2 separate regions of the Homo sapiens genome follow, and region 2 is linked to region 1. The links are contacts of gene promoters, found by promoter capture Hi-C in blood cells and fetal thymus (Javierre and others, 2016). All regions are on one chromosome and are shown on one strand. Each heading gives the region's core, a stretch centred on a gene start or on the middle of the fragment in contact. The rest is flanking DNA. Distances are from core to core; before and after follow the strand shown. Region 1 holds the start of ACBD7 (acyl-CoA binding domain containing 7). Region 2 holds the start of LOC124902380 (a long non-coding RNA gene).

Region 1 (7,681 bases), core at 3,383-5,882:
GGACAGAACTTACTAGAGCTCAACATAAAGGCTATGTGGGGTTGCATAAATACTCACAAATCAATAAATAAACAATCAATCAATAATCACCTTGGCAGCACCCACGGGGCCTCACGGACTGCTGGTGGGTGGCGTGAGCCTGGTCTGAGTCTATTAAGTACATCCTTGTTGGATGGTTAACGAGCGAGCAGACTTTAGGGGGATCAGAAAGTTATCATAGGTGAGATGCAGCTTTAAATATAGAGCCATGGACATTGAATTCCAAAGCATTCTTGTTACCAGTGGAGGGTGCCCAAGTTCTTGGCATTTTGAACAAAAAATTGGACAAAATGCACAAACAAAGCAAGGAAACAATGAAGCAACAAAAGCCGAGATTTACTGAAAGCGAAAGTACATTCCACAGGGTGGGAGCAGGCCGAGCACAGGGACTCAAGATCCCTGTTACAGAATTTTCTGTGCTTAAACGCCCTCCAGAGGCTTCCCATTGGTTACTTGGTGTGCATCCTATGTAAATGAAGTAGCGGCCTGCAATCAGAGGCTGAAGTTACAAAGTTACACTTCTATGCAAATAAAGACTTGGCTCACGATCAGTCTGACTGGTTGGGGAAAGCAACCAATCAGAGGCTGAAATGAAGTTACAAAGGTACATTCCTGTGCAAATGTCTGATTGGTTGCAGAAAGCAACCAGTCAGAGATACTTTCAATTTTCCATCTGCCACACAGAAAGTGGGGAGGAGGTTGCAAAGGGAGTAGCCTCCGGTCCTTTTATTACATAGGTGTGGAAAGTTGGGGTTTTGATTTAGTTCTACAAAGTCAGTGTGAATCGGCCTTAGGTTCCCTGCCTCCAGACCCTATTCTCCTGCCTCATCCTGAGAGAAAGGCATCACAGTTTTGCAGTATCCTGTTGCAGAGCTGGGCTTGCTGCCTTTGGCAGGAACTGCAGCCAATGCTGAGCTGATTTCTCCTGAGCGAGGGGTCCTCGGCATCCTGGTTGAATGTTTTGTGCATTATCTCCCGGTCACCCGAGCTTGGGATTCTGCAAGACAAACTGCCTTAAGGCTACTACAGCCCCTCCCTGGACTCTCTCCTGTTCAACTTTTGACACTAGGCTCCCTCACCCCACCTTTGGCGTAGAAGTTACGCCAGCATCACTCACACTGGGTACATCCTGGGTGCATCCTTCCGTGCTGACTAGGCGGGCTGCTGTGTAAATTACCTTTCACATTTCAGCCCCGCTGAAGACAGCCTCCGAGGGTGGCTCTCACCTCACCTGACTTTACTTTCTGCAATGAACATGGTCATCCCACATAGGGGGTTGGCAAGGTCTTCTTGAGCAATTCTTTCCCATTGAGCAACCCAATTAAGAAGATAAAAAATTCTCACACTCAAGGAACTGCAGGGTTCTTAGGTCACACAAATGTGGGCTGGGGGAAGAGGTTAGTCTTTTTTTGCCAGTTGTTAAAATCATCAGTACCCTAGACTTGAAAAGATACATATTCTAGAGGAAGAAGTCTGTTTTTTAGCTTCATCATCTAGGAAAGAAATTTGTCCATTTAGGATAAACATCAGCTCTCCTAAATGCTTTGGTGAGGATGGAAACATATTGTAATTTTCAGATAAAATCAGGAGGCTATAGCCGAATTAGAAATTCCATTTGTTTTGCTACTCCAATGACAGTCTGCCAGTATACTTATTCTTGTGTAAATAAATAGAAGACTGGGGACCCTGAACTAGTCACCTTTCCTCTCATTTCCACTCAGTGAGCATCTTGGCAGAACACTAGTACCAATATGATCCCCGCACATGCCAGTGAGGTAATAAAGACAGAAGAGATTTCAATATGTCAGCCAGTTATTAGTTGTCATTTTTAAAAGTTACTTTCAGCTGGGCGTGGTAGCTCACATCTGTAATCCCAGCACTTTGGGAGGCTGAGGCAGGCAGATCACTTGAGGTCAGGAGTTCAAGACCAGCCTGGCCAACATGGTGAAACCCTGTCTCTACTAAAAATACAAAAATTAGCCGGCCGTGGTGGCAGGCACCTGTAATTCCAGCTACTAGGAGGCTAAGGCAGGAGAATTGCTTGAATCTGGGAGGTGGAGGTTGCAGTGAGTCAAGATCACGCCATTGCACTCCAGCCTGGGCAACAGAGCAAGACACCATCTCAAAAAAAAAAAAAGTTACCTTCCCCCAATATTGTTGACACGCAAATGCATTATTAGTAGATAATATCATGGGTCGATGTTAATACTTCTTAGCATACTGCTTTTCTGTGATGTTCCTCAACTCTTAATTCCTCGTTGCAAGTATTTTAAAAGCAAACAACAACAGAAAACCAAAGTACTAAGCTAAAAAGGAAACTTTCAGATCTTTCAGGAAATTTTAGAAAGAACATTTTGATCATTTTGGAGAGAGTTCAGTATAAACACATAAGTCACGCACAAGAATATTTGAGCCAGGCAAGGTGGCTCATGCCTGTAATCCCAGCACTTTGGGAGGCCAAGGCGGGTGGATCGCTTGAGCTCAGGAGTTGGAGATCAGCCTGGGCAACACAGCAAAACCAAATGTCTACAAAAGATACAAAAAAGGAAAGCCTGGCATGGTGGCTCACACCTGTAATCCAAGCACTTTGGGAGGCTGAGGCGGGCAGATCACCTGAGGTCAGGAGTTTGAGACCACCCTGACCAACATGGAGAAACTCCATCTCTACTAAAAATACAAAATTAATTGGGTGTGGTGGCACATGCCTGTAATCCCAGCTACTCAGGAGGCTGAGGCAGGAGAATCGGTTGAACCCAGAAGGTGGAGGTTGCGGTGAGCCAAGATTGCGCCATTGCACTCCAGCCTGGGCAACAAGAGTGAAACTCCATCTCAAAAAAAAAAAAAAAAAATAGCCAGGTGTGGTGGCAGGTGCCTGTGGTCCAAGCTACTTGGGAGGCTGAAGTGGCAGGATCACTTGAGCCCAGGAGGTCAAGGCTGCAGTGAGCTGAGATCATGCCATTGCACTCCAGCCTGGGTGACAGAGTGAGACCCTGTCTCAAAACAAACAAACTAAATGTTCCACCACAAGCTTATCCTTATTGGACTTCTACCACATGCCAAACATTGTTTTAAATGCTTTATACATATAACTCATTTAATGTATCTCTCCTGCATTTTTAGATAAAGAAACTGAGGCACGGAGAGGTTAACTATGTCACAGGCTAAGTAGAAGTGAGGCACACATTTGAACCCAGATGGCCCTGAAGTATGTATTACAACTTTACGCAGGATAACGTCTTGCCTGACTGAAATGGTTAAAGAAGTGAGCCACGTTCTATGAAATTTTGTGCATGTAAAAGATTACATTTTAGAGGCCGGGCGTGGTGGCTCACGCCTGAAATCCCAGCACTTTGGGTGTCCAAGGCGGGTGGATCACTTGAGGTCAGGAGTTGGAGACCAGTCTGGCCAACACAGCGAAACCCCATCTCCACTAAAAATAGAGAAAAATAGCCAGGAGTGGCGGCGCACGCCTATAATCCCAGCTATTTGGGAGGCTGAGATAGGAGAATCACTTGAACTTGGGAGGCGGAGGTTGCGGTGAGCTGAGATTGCACCACTGCACTCCAGCCTGGGTGACAGAGTGAGACTCCATCTCAAACAGCCTGGGTGACAGAATGAGACTCCATCTTAAAAAAAAAAAAAAAAAATTACAAAAATCAGCCGGGCGTGGTGGCGTGCACCTGTAACCCCAGCTACTGCGGAGGCTGAGACATGAGAATCGCTTACACCTGGGAGGTGGAGGTTGCAGTGAGCAGAGGTTGCAGTGAGCAGAGATCGCACCAACTGCGCCTCAACCTGGGCAACAGAATGAGACTCTGTCTCAAAAAAGAAAAATAAAATTACATTTTAGAATATTTAATAATGAGAAAATGCTCATATTACTGTTTTACGTGTAGGAATAAAACTATATACACAATAACATCATAGGTATGTGTGTAGATATATGCCACACACATACACACATGGAAAATAACATACTAGGACATACTAGGAATTACCCTAGCATGTAGCAGTGATTATCACCTGGGTGAAGGAATTATCATTGGATTATTATCAGTAATTATTACTTTATATTTGTTGTCTTTTCCAAAGTTTTCCACCCTTAACAATTTTTTTCACATACCTATAAAACAGTATTTTTAAATTGGAGCCTCACAGATCTCTTCTGCTCAGTATGACACTAAGAGAGGTCCTGGAGGTCCCAACGAGCGAAGGGGCGGGAGCGGGGGATCTCGACTCCCTCTCGGAGACGGAGAGGAGGAGGCCCGCTCCGTGCTCCCCGGCGCTCCTGCCTTGCCTGCTTTTCCGCTCACCCGGCCCCTGGGGTCCGGAAGGGTTGCCCTGGGAGCCCTGGCTCGCCGTCAGCAGGCACAGGTGCGGTCTACACTGCCATCTGGGGCGCTGGGGAAGGAGTGGGCGTGTCCCCCGGGTCACCGCCGACCGCTCCCAGGGGCGCCAAGCCCACCCGGAGCCCCACTTAAGCACTCCCCTCGCGGAGCGCCCCTCCCGCGTGGCCTCCCCGCGCCCCGGGTACCTGCAGGGCCATGGTGGCGGCTGCCGCGTTGTTGCTGCTGCTGTTGTCGTCCGGTGCTCTGCCCCCTCTCGCACCCACCGCTTCTTAAACGGCCGCGTCTCCTCCGGCCGCTGCCATTGGCCGCGCTCCCGGCCCGGCCGCCTCCCATTGGTCGCGGGCGCGGGGGCGAGGCTGGGCGGTGAGCGGTACTGCACGCCGGGTTCCCCAGGCTGCAAATGGAAAGGCGAAGACAGGAGAATTTAAATGAGTTTCTCTCCGCTCTTGGCTCTCTCTTCTATTCTTTCTCAAGCGGTTCTTTGCAGGAAACCCAGAGAGGTCTCCGTAGGGCACAGGCCTCCCCTGGAATGCCTTCGAAAGAAAGAAAGAAGGAGAGAGACAGAGAGAGAGAGAGAGAGAGAAAAAATATATATATATATAGAGAGAGAGATATATATTTATCTAGAGAGACCCGCCCCAACTCTCTTAAAATACATATGTAATTTTTTCAATTTAAAAAAATTTATACATGTAAATATGTATTGGCCGGGCGCGGTGCCTCACGCCTGTAATCCCAACACTTTGGGAGGCTGAGGCCGGCAGATCACCTGAGGTCGGGAGTTCGAGACCAGCCTGACCAACATGGAGAAACCCTGTCTCTACTAAAAATACAAAATTAGCCGGGTGTGGTGGCGCATACCTGTAATCCCAGTTACTCGGGAGGCTGAGGCAGGAGAATCGCTTGAACCCGGGAGGTGGAGGCTGTGGTGAGCCAAGATTGCACCATTGCACTCCAGCCTGGGCAACAAGTGTGAAACTCCGTCTCAAAAAAAAAAAAGAATAAGTAAATATGTATTTAAAATTTTATAAATTAAAAATTTATATATATAAATTTTTTTCAGAGGTTGGGGTCTTCCTAGGTATATATATATTATATATTTTTTCTCTAAAAATTATATATAAATTTATATATATTTAAAATGTTAAAAATTAAAAATTTTATAAATTAAAAGTGCAAATTAAAAAATATATATATATGTGTTTTTTTTTTTTTTAAGAGAGGTGGTGGGGGGGGCGTCTCACTAGGTTGCCCAGGCTGGTCTCGAACTCCTGACCTCAAGCGATCCTCCCACCTCGGCTTCCCGAAGCACAGGATTCCTTCTTTATACATACTTCTCTCATGTCCATTATTCCTAGAAACGTGGATGATGGATGTGTCTCCTCCACGCTGCCTCCAGGCGCTGTTTATCATGAGAGAAAGTGGCCTGTGGTTTGCACCTCTTCTCTTTATAAAGCAAAACCACCTAAATTCTGGACACATGCTATAATCAGCTTAACTTGTTTTTAATTATGGTAAAGGCACAGGACTAAACGCCTATTCAATTTGACTCAGTTTTCTAGGGGAACAAACCCAATGTCACTCCAAGTCTGCAGACACACCGAATAGGATTACATTTCCAAAGGACTGGAACCGAATTGGGTGGTCACATGAGAAGCTAATTTCCGACACTTCGCATAAATAGTAGCATTGGTGGAGAAGGGTGACTGGGAGAAAAAAGAAACTCAATGTCAGCAAAGTGACTGAGCTTCAACGTACAACAATGCAACAAGAAACCTTTCAGCTTGCTTTTGCATAAAGCTACATTTTTAAAATATTTGCGTTTTCATGAAAATCTTTTTTTTTCTCCTCACAAATATTTTCCTGGTGAAATCAGTGCATTTCCAAGTGAAGGACCAAAAGCAAAATGTTAGAAAAACCTACTGGGCAGTTGTTTGTGTTTGAAGTCCTAGATGATGGGAAAGGTCCCGTGGGGGTACTGAGGCTCATGGCAGCTTCAGCACAGCCAGGCCTTTCTCTGTTAGCCTAGTCCTGGCTGCGGGCAGAACCCGGTCTGTGGTGTTTCAGCAGGAAATACTGCACTGAGTTCAGGTATCAGTCCATATCTTCAGCTGAGACATTCTGGAATTATCGTCACTGTAAGAATCCAGAAGAGGAGAGGGATGGACGCTACATTGTTCTCTGCTTTTTTCTCTAAATCCAGAATGTTCTTTTAAGACCTCTTTTGAAAGTATTTTCTTCTCCTGGGTTGCCATTCCCCATCTCATTGCCTAGCCATGTGTGTCTTGTCTTGAGATGCAAGAAGGGGCCAGGCGCGGTGGCTCACGCCTGTAATCCCAGCACTTTGGGAGGCCGAGGTGGGCAGATCACTTGAGGTCAGGAGTTCAAGACCAGCCTGGCCAACATGGCAAAAACCCTTCTTCTAAAAATACAAAAATTAGCTAGGCATGCTGGTGGGCACCTGTAATCCCAGCTACTTGAGAGGCTGAGGCAAGGAGAATTGCTTGAACCTGGGAGCCGGAGGCTGCAGTGCGCCAAGATCTTGCCACTGCACTCCAGCCTGGGCAACAGAGTGAGACTCTGTCTCAAAAATAAATAAGATAAAATAAAATAAAATAAAATAAAAACCATAGCATGAGTTTCAGAATAGGTTTTTCTTTTTCTATAAAAAAAATCCTTTGGGATTCTGATAGGGATTGCATTGAATCTTTAGTACTGTCACGATGAACATTTCTTAACCCTGGCAGTGCATTCAATTACCTGGGGAAAAAAAGATACAAACCCCAGTCTGATCCCTAATTCCCACCACCATTTTGATGTAATGGCTGTAGGGTTGGACCCAAGCCTCACGAATGGTGCATCCATGGTTTTGCTCTCTTCTCTGCAATGACAATTTAGCTCTCCTTGGCTGAACAGTACATGTGGTCCTCCGGGATGGACCAGGTCCTGCTGACCTCTTCAACCACATCTCTCGCTATTTCCCACAGGCATGGATGCTCTACCCCAGGTAACTGAAGGACTTCAAGTTCCCTTTCTCCACGTTGGTAGATAGTTGCCACTCCACTGTCTGGCACACCCTTTTCCTTCTTTTCTTTTTATTTTCTTTTCCTTTTCTTTTCCCTCCCTCCCTCTCTCTTTCTCTCTTTGATTTTTTCTTTTCTCTTTCTCTTTCTTCTCTCTCTCTTTCTTGTTTTTGAGACGGAGTCTCAATCTATCACCCAGGCTGGAGTGCAGTGGTGACATCTCAGCTCACTGGAACCTCCACCTCCCGGATTCAAGTGGTTCTCCTGCCT
Region 2 (7,681 bases), core at 3,710-6,209, 600 kb before region 1:
AAAATGAGTTCTCTTTTTTTTACTCCTCTCTGTCTTTTCTGTTACCTCCTTCCTTCCTTCCTCACAAGCTTTTTTTCTGGGGGTGGAGGTGTTGGGGGTGCCTTATGCCTCTTCCCTGGAGGAATTCCAGAACCAGTAGTACCAGCATGTTGATCACCCGCAAGGCTAGCAAGATGGCTAACCCTTGGCATTGCCCAAATGCTGTTTCAGAAGGTCAGCCTTCGTATGCTGGTGTGCTCAGCCCGCCTCGGAACCTTCTTTCCCACTTCAACATTCCTTGGTACTTAAATTCTTTGTGGAGCAATTACTTTCCACCTTGAGCAGTTCGTTTCTACTTGAACAGGCAGCTGGAGGTAGTCAAAGCGAGCTGAAACAATCGTTTGCTATTGTAAAGCTCCCTTCATCCATACACTTACCATTCATCACACTGGAAAATAACAGAATGGCAAAGAGCGATTGCTGGTATTAATAGAATCATGTCAGCTGAGGACAGACCCAAACAAACACAGCCATTGGGAACTATTGTGTCGCCTTACTGTCTCTGAAGGATTGTCCAGCTGGTAGATCTGAGCAATGTGCTCGTAAACAAAAGCCTGTACTCAGAGAGGCACTGCAGACACCAAGAAGCCTGACCGCTGACCGCAGGGCTTCACCTTCTGACACGCTGACGTCTCCAATGGTTTTTTTTTTGTTTTTTTTTTTTTTTTTTTTTTTGAGCAGAGTCTTGCTTTATTGCCCAGGCTGGAGTGCAGTGTCGTGATCTCAGATCACTGCAACCTCTGCCTCCCAGGTTCAAAGGATTCTCATGCCTCAGCCTCCCAAGTAGCTGGGATTACAGGTGTGCCCGACCATGCCCAGCTAATTTTTTTTTAATTTTTTTTTATTTATTTATTTTCCTCCTAGGCGGAGTCTTGCTCTGTCGCCCAGGCTGGAGTGCACTGGCGCGATCTCGGCTCACCGTCATCTCTGCCTCCTGGGTTCAAGAAATTCTCCTGCCTCAGCCTCCCAAGTAGCTGGAATTACAGGCATGCACCACCACACCCAGCTGATTTTTGTATTTTTAATAGAGACGGGGTTTTACCATCTTAGCCAGACTGGTCTCTGAACTCCTGACCTCAGGTGATCCACCCATCTCGTCCTCTCAAAGTGTTGGGATTACAGGCGGAGCCACCGTGCCAGGCCTATTTTTAGTAGAGACAGAGTTTCACTATGTTGGCCAGGCTGGTCTCGAACTCCTGACCTCAAGTAATCTGCCTGCCTCAGCCTCCCAAAGTGCTGGGATTACAGGTGTGAGCCACCATGCTCGATCCATCTCCAGGTTTTTTAGAGGGCTGATTTGTTAACTAGAAGGTTGATTGAGTACCAAGCAATAAAATGCAAGGTATTTTTAATTCAGTCATGAACATCTACTAAAATTATAAGAAAGTTGTTTTGTGAATCCCACGCTAAAGAAAGGGAAGGAAAGAATGTGGTTAACTCAGCTTAACTAGTTACCCGTCTCAGCGATCACAGATGATAAATGAAAAGGGAATCAAGTTCATACATTCAGCAAATTTTTTTAAGAGACAGAGTCTTGCTGTTGCCCAGGCTGGAGTGCAGTGGTGTTATCACAGCTCACAGCAGCCTCAACTTCTAGCCTCAAGCGATCCTCCCACCTCAGCCTCCAAGTAGCTGGGACTAACAGGTGCATGCCACCACACCCAGACAACTTTTTTTTTTTTTTTTTTTTTTTGTAGAGACAGAGCCTCACTACATTTCCCAGGCTGGTCTCAAACTGCTGGGCTCAAGCATCGGCCTCCCAAATCCCTGGGATTACAGGCATGAGCCACCATTCCCAGCCACATTCAGCAAATATTGATTGAGGGCTTCTGCATGCAAAATGTTGTTCTAGGTGCAGAGGAGAAAGAAGTTACCAAACAAAGACCCTGCCTTCCCTCTTGGAGTTTATTTACATTGAGGAGAAAGACAAAAAAATATATATAAATATATAATACAATGTCAGGGAGTGACAAACGCCAAGAAAAAAAAAATAAGGCAAGGAAAGTAAGCGTGGGCAATGGTGGGAAGATGAGACACAGGAACGGTCCCTCTCAGGAGGGGACATGTGAGCAGAGACCTGAGTGAAGCGAGGAGATGAGCTGTGTGAGTACCTGGGGGAGGAGCCAGCCCTGCAGTGGGAAGGGTTGTGCAAAGGCCCTGGGGCAGCACGCTTGGCATGCTCAAAGGACTGGGCTTGGTTTCTTAACAAACATATGGTGGCAGACTTGGTGCAGCCAAATGAGTGCTTTACCCTCCAAGTAATGAGGGTGCATGTATTATAATGAGGCTGCCGCTTTTGGAATCCCCCCTTTAGAATCAACCTTAAATTGCTATTTACATCCCCCTCTTCCCCAACTCCCACTCAAATAACCAAAGATCATCAAAAGAAACAGAAATAAATAGTGCCAGGAAATAGCAGAGAGGGCCATCAGCAGGCCAGAAACTTTGAGAAAACGTTGGATAGTGTGAGGTAGATGGGATCAAATTGACAGAAAAATTGATCAGGGCTGACTGACTGGTAATTCAGAGTCGGCCAGGGAGGCTCGCTGAGAAATGAAAGAACTTCCCCGACAGAGTCCTGAGGAGGAACCCCCAGCTCAGCTCTGACTGGAGGTCAGAGTGAGCCGAAGACACATTTAGAAAGGGATCAACAGGAAAACGTCTCTAATTGCACAGGTGGTCAGTCCACGTCCCCAGCTGCAGGTGGGGTGGATGTTAAAAGTCAAGTCCTAATGTCAATTGTGGGTGGGGAACCAAAAGAAGGTGGTACCCTGGCTAGCCTGTGTGTGCCACAGCAAATGGAAAATGGAACATAATTTATAACAGCTTAGCATCTGTGTTCACTTGGTGAACGTTGATTACACGAATTCGATGACTCCTGTCATACCCAACTAAAACAGAGTTGAGAAGCCAAGGCGTGGGGAATGCACTCTTGACACACAACATATAGGGTTGCTCCAAGAATGTCATTTTCTGCAAGCTCAGCTGCTGAAACTGCCTGCTGGATCCCCAAACCAGTCGAATCTAATGGCTACGAAACAACCTGCTGGGACTCTAAAAGTAGTTTTACCTGCCGCCACCACTTGCCTATCAGAAAGTTCCAGCTACGCAAAATTTTACTAGTGCCATTGAACTTCCTTGAAGGACAATACATAACGTTTATCTCTCTTTTACATATAAAACCTCTAACCTTCTCTTTGTTCTTTGGACATACCAAAGACCACCTGGTATGCATGTATGCCCCAAATTGCAATTTTTGCTTCCCCAATAAAATGTCCTAAATGTAGAGATTCATCTCTATACTTTATTTGACTTTGACCACTTCTTCCCTATTTCCTACCCCTAACCACATCCAGAAGATCTCAAGTAGATGGATGGGATGGGGATGAACCAGCTTTTGTGACCTTCCTGAGACCCCCATCCAGGAAGCAGCCGACTGCCCTCCAAGCTGCCTTGGGTAAAAGGGAGTTTGTCCCCAAAGGAACCCCTGCCTGCACCCTAGGCACACAAACACCAGCCACCAGTCTGTCCCCAGGCCACACGGTCCTACGGGAAGCCACCTGCAGCCTTCTCCTGCTCCCTCAGCAGACCCAGAACTGCCCTGTCATTCAGTAGGAGAATCTGTCTTTGTCCTGGTAGCTTGAATGGTGCCAACTCCATTTATGTTTTCTATTTGTATTTTCTTCGTGTTTTTCTTTTCCTTTCCTAACATATATGGGGTTCATTACATTTTTCATTGTTCTTTTCCATATTCATTTTGAAGTTCTACATCCTATTTCTATTTTACTAGAATTTTACTACATTTTTAGCTAACTTAATTCAACAAAATATTTTTGCATCATTAATAATTAAATAATACGTATAATCCCCCTTTCAACAAGTCTAACAAGATGAGGTGTTTGCAACCTTTTGTAGCCCCCTCCTTTTGATGGCTCCTTGAATTTAGTTCCAAGATTATAATTATTATTATAGGGCTTCTTTTATTTTGCACCGTATACCCTTTTTATCTTCTAATAGACTTTATGCTTTTTAGCAGTTTTAGGAACACAGTAAACTTGAGCAGAAAGCAGAGAAAGTTCCCATATACCCCCCCATCCCCACATATACACAGCTTTCTTCATCATCAACATCCTGCACCAAAATGGTACATTTGTTATCCTCAATGAACCTACGTTAATACATCATTATCATCCAAAGTCCATAGGTTACATTAGGGATCACTCTTGATGTTGTACATTCTATGACTTTTGACAAATATATCATGACATGTATCCACCCTTATAGCATCTTACAAAACAGTTTCGCTGCCCCCAAATCGTCTATGTTCCACCTATTTATCCTTCTTTTTCCCCAACCCCTGGCAACCGCTGATCTATTTACTATCTTCTATAGTTTTGCCTTTTCCTGAATGTCGTATAGATGGAATCACACAGTATGTATGTAGCCTTTTCAGATTGGCTTTTTCACTTAGTAATATACATTTGAGGTTCCACCATGCCTTTGTTGGCTTGATAGCACCTTTTCTTTTCATCACTGAATAATATCCCATCGTCTGGACATACCACGGTTTATCCATTCATCTATGGAAGAACATCCTGGTTGCTTGCAAATTTTGTCAATTATGAAGAAAGTTGCCAGAAACATCTGTGCATTGGTTTTTGTGTGGACATAAGCTTTCAATTCCTTTGGGTAAATACCAAGGAGCGTGAACGCTGGATCACATAGTAAGAGTATGTTTCATTTTGTAAGAAACTGCCAAACTGTCTTCCTAAGTGGTTGTGCCATTTTTGCATTCCTCCAGAATGAGTGAGAATTGCTGTTGTTCCAAATCTTCGCCAGCATTTGGTGTTAGTGTTTTGGATTCTGACCATTTCAATAGGTGCGTAATAGTATTTCATTTTTTGAATTTACAATTCCCTAATGACATATACTGCTTATTCTTTCAAATATTTTGAAAATGTGTTAAACCTCACAAACTATACTATCAACTACATTTAAATGTGTTAATGGTTTTATTGCTCACTATATAATGTAGCATTTATTTCCCTTTTAAAAGTTTATTCGTTTATTCCACAAACATCGACTGAGTGCCTGGTGCGTGCCCTGCGTGAAAATCTATAGTTACAAACTGACAAAACCTCTGTCTTCATGGAGCTTCCCTCCCCATAAAAGCTTTAAATTATTTTGTATTTGGCTAAAGTATACCCTTACATAATTTGTTTGTGGAATTTCTTTGTTTGGTTGGTTGTTGCTGTTGTTTTTCCCGAAATATTCTATTCTAGAAGGAAACATAGCTCATTCCCTGGACCCCTCTAGGTCTTCGCTCAAACATCACCTTCTCAGTGAGCACTACCACGGCCACATCACTTAAAATTGCATCCTCCTCCCCACAGTGCTCCCCGTTTCACCTCCTCCATAATATTTCTAACACACAACACATCATATTTCATGTAAGACATGAATGTTGACGCACACTATTACGTTTTATGTCAACAAAAGAGAAGGGCGGCTAACTGAGTCATGGCCTTGACATTAGGTCACACTGATGCGGGGCAGCTGAGCCCCATCATGGAGCTTAGCCCACAAGGCTTCTTGGCTTTGCCCAGGAAAGAATTCAAGGGCAAGCCAAAAGTAAAAGAAAACAGTCTTAGCGTTACAACTCTGTGACTGCCCCCGCAGAGCAGGGCTACCCAGTAGGCAGAGAGTAGCAGCTCAGGGCAGGGCAATTTTGCAGCCATATTTATACACACGTTTAGCTGCATGCAGATTAAGGAGTGGTTTATGCACGGGAGGGGTAGTAACTTTTGGATGGTTGGGTGCCGTGGAAAGAGGCAGTACCTCCCGAGTGTTGCCATGGCAACAGTAAATTGACCTGGTACACTGGTGGGTGGGTCTGATTGAATGCTGCTTTCATCCTGGCCCTGTTTCAGCTAGTCCTCAATCTGATCTGGTGTCCGAGCTCCACCTCTGGAGGTGAGTCCTGCCTCTTACCTCAACACCTCACCAATTTTTTTTTTTTTTACTAATTTGGAGATTTTAAGAGACTTCTCATGCCTTGAAAACCTTTGCATGTGATAGGCAGTCCTTTTGCAAACATAGCTCAGTAGTAAGACATGACAAAGCTTCACCCTCTTGCGGGTATCTTCTTTTCTTACAGTGTCAAAACATGACTGGTTGTTTATAAGGAAACACGGAATTGTGGTCACTCTCCCAAAGATGAATACTTGCTTTTGGGTTTCCATGCCTCTCCATGTACACAATAACCTTTTGTTTCAATTTCAGATCATCGTGGAATCTTTTTGAAGACATTTGAATGGCAAAATAAATCCTTTACGCATAGTACTGGCAAAGAGCCCAGCTGAGCTGAAGCAGGAACACTATGAGCAGCTTTTCTCAGGTTTGCAACTTCGGGGGAAATGGCAATTCCTTAAAGGCAGCTGCCCGGCCAGCAGCAATGATAAGATGCCAGCGATTATAGAATGCACCCCAGTTTCAAAGTTGCTAATGTGAAACATCATGCTTCTAAGAATCAACAAAATATAGTAATGTACTCACTTTGTCTATTATCTAGCTGCCTCTACTAGTTAGCAAGCTCTGTGATGATGACAGTAAACTTGGTGTATCTACTGATACCTCACCAGTGCCTATAACAGGACTTGGCCCATAGTACCGAGAACTGGAGAATGACCACAGTTCCATGTTTTCTTATAAACAACTAGTCAAGTTTTGACACTGTAAGAAAACAAGAGACCTCCAATCAAGTGAATGGACCCGCTTCTGGCTAAGGGAATCTCAGAAAAAGCTTAAAAACGAAGTTCCTGGCCATGACGGAAGAGGAGGTCAGACACATCTTGTCATACCCCTTCCCTTTTGTGGTTTAGCTACAACAACTGACCAGCATTCATGTTAAAATAGAAATCATCAGACTGATGGGATACGGATGCTTTGTGGCCATAAGATACCAAATTATGAACAGGACCTAAAGCCTTGCCAGGCAAGGGTTAAGCCACACACCCTACACTTTAAAAGAATAAACTATGTTCTAACGGCCACAAGGTTTCATTTTTCTCTAGCAGCTAAACAAACACTGGCCTTGACATAAGCAATATGAAAACAATTGCAGCCAGGTGCAGTGGCTCACACCTGTAATCCCAGCACTTTGGGAGGCAGAGGCGGGCAGATCGCCTGAGGTCAGGAGCTCGAGACCAGCCTGGTCAACATGGCAAAACCCCGTCTCTACTAAAAATACAAAAATTAGCCAGGCGTGGTGGCGGGCACCTGTAATCCCAGCTACCCAGGAGGCTGAGGCAGGAGAGTCGCTGGAACCCAGGAGGCAGAGGCTGCAGTGAGCCAAGATCGCGCCACTGCACTCCTGCCTGGGCAACAAGAGCGAGACTCCATCTAAAAAAAAAAAAATTTGCAGCTCGTGTACTTCCAGATGCTGATTAACTGACCCCCATCCCACCAGCCATCACTACAGCTTTGATTGGAGAAGAGACTGATTTCAGTAACTTTGTCCTGATCAGAGGCTGCTGACCGTAGACTGGTTGTGGCCAGTTTACAGAGGCTGTGCACTCAGTGCCAGAGGGAAGCTAGGGAGGAGGGAAGGAAGGAAGGAAAGAAGGGAGGGAGGGAGGGAGGG

Evidence for each region. Contacts are between HindIII fragments. The CHiCAGO score rates a contact against its expected background, and 5 or more counts as called.
Region 2: a contact is called between a fragment that was not itself captured here and the fragment with the promoter of ACBD7 in region 1, in 2 of 17 cell types (neutrophils and M0 macrophages). The highest score is 5.5, in neutrophils.

What each region holds. Positions count from the first base shown.
Region 1 is chr10:15,084,144-15,091,824 of GRCh38, forward strand. ACBD7 (acyl-CoA binding domain containing 7) reads right to left here and starts at 4,633. Exons shown (of 4, transcript NM_001039844.3): 1 at 4,574-4,633. The coding sequence starts at 4,585. ACBD7-DCLRE1CP1 (ACBD7-DCLRE1CP1 readthrough) reads right to left here and starts at 4,633. Exons shown (of 8, transcript NR_144471.1): 1 at 4,574-4,633. RefSeq lists an enhancer at 1-358 and a silencer at 4,418-4,807. The HindIII fragment of the contact is 6,812 bases long and covers 3,066-7,681 here.
Region 2 is chr10:14,481,385-14,489,065 of GRCh38, forward strand. It overlaps LOC124902380 (a long non-coding RNA gene), which reads left to right and starts at 5,886. Exons shown (of 2, transcript XR_007062062.1): 1 at 5,886-6,012; 2 at 6,322-7,091. The HindIII fragment of the contact is 499 bases long and covers 4,711-5,209 here.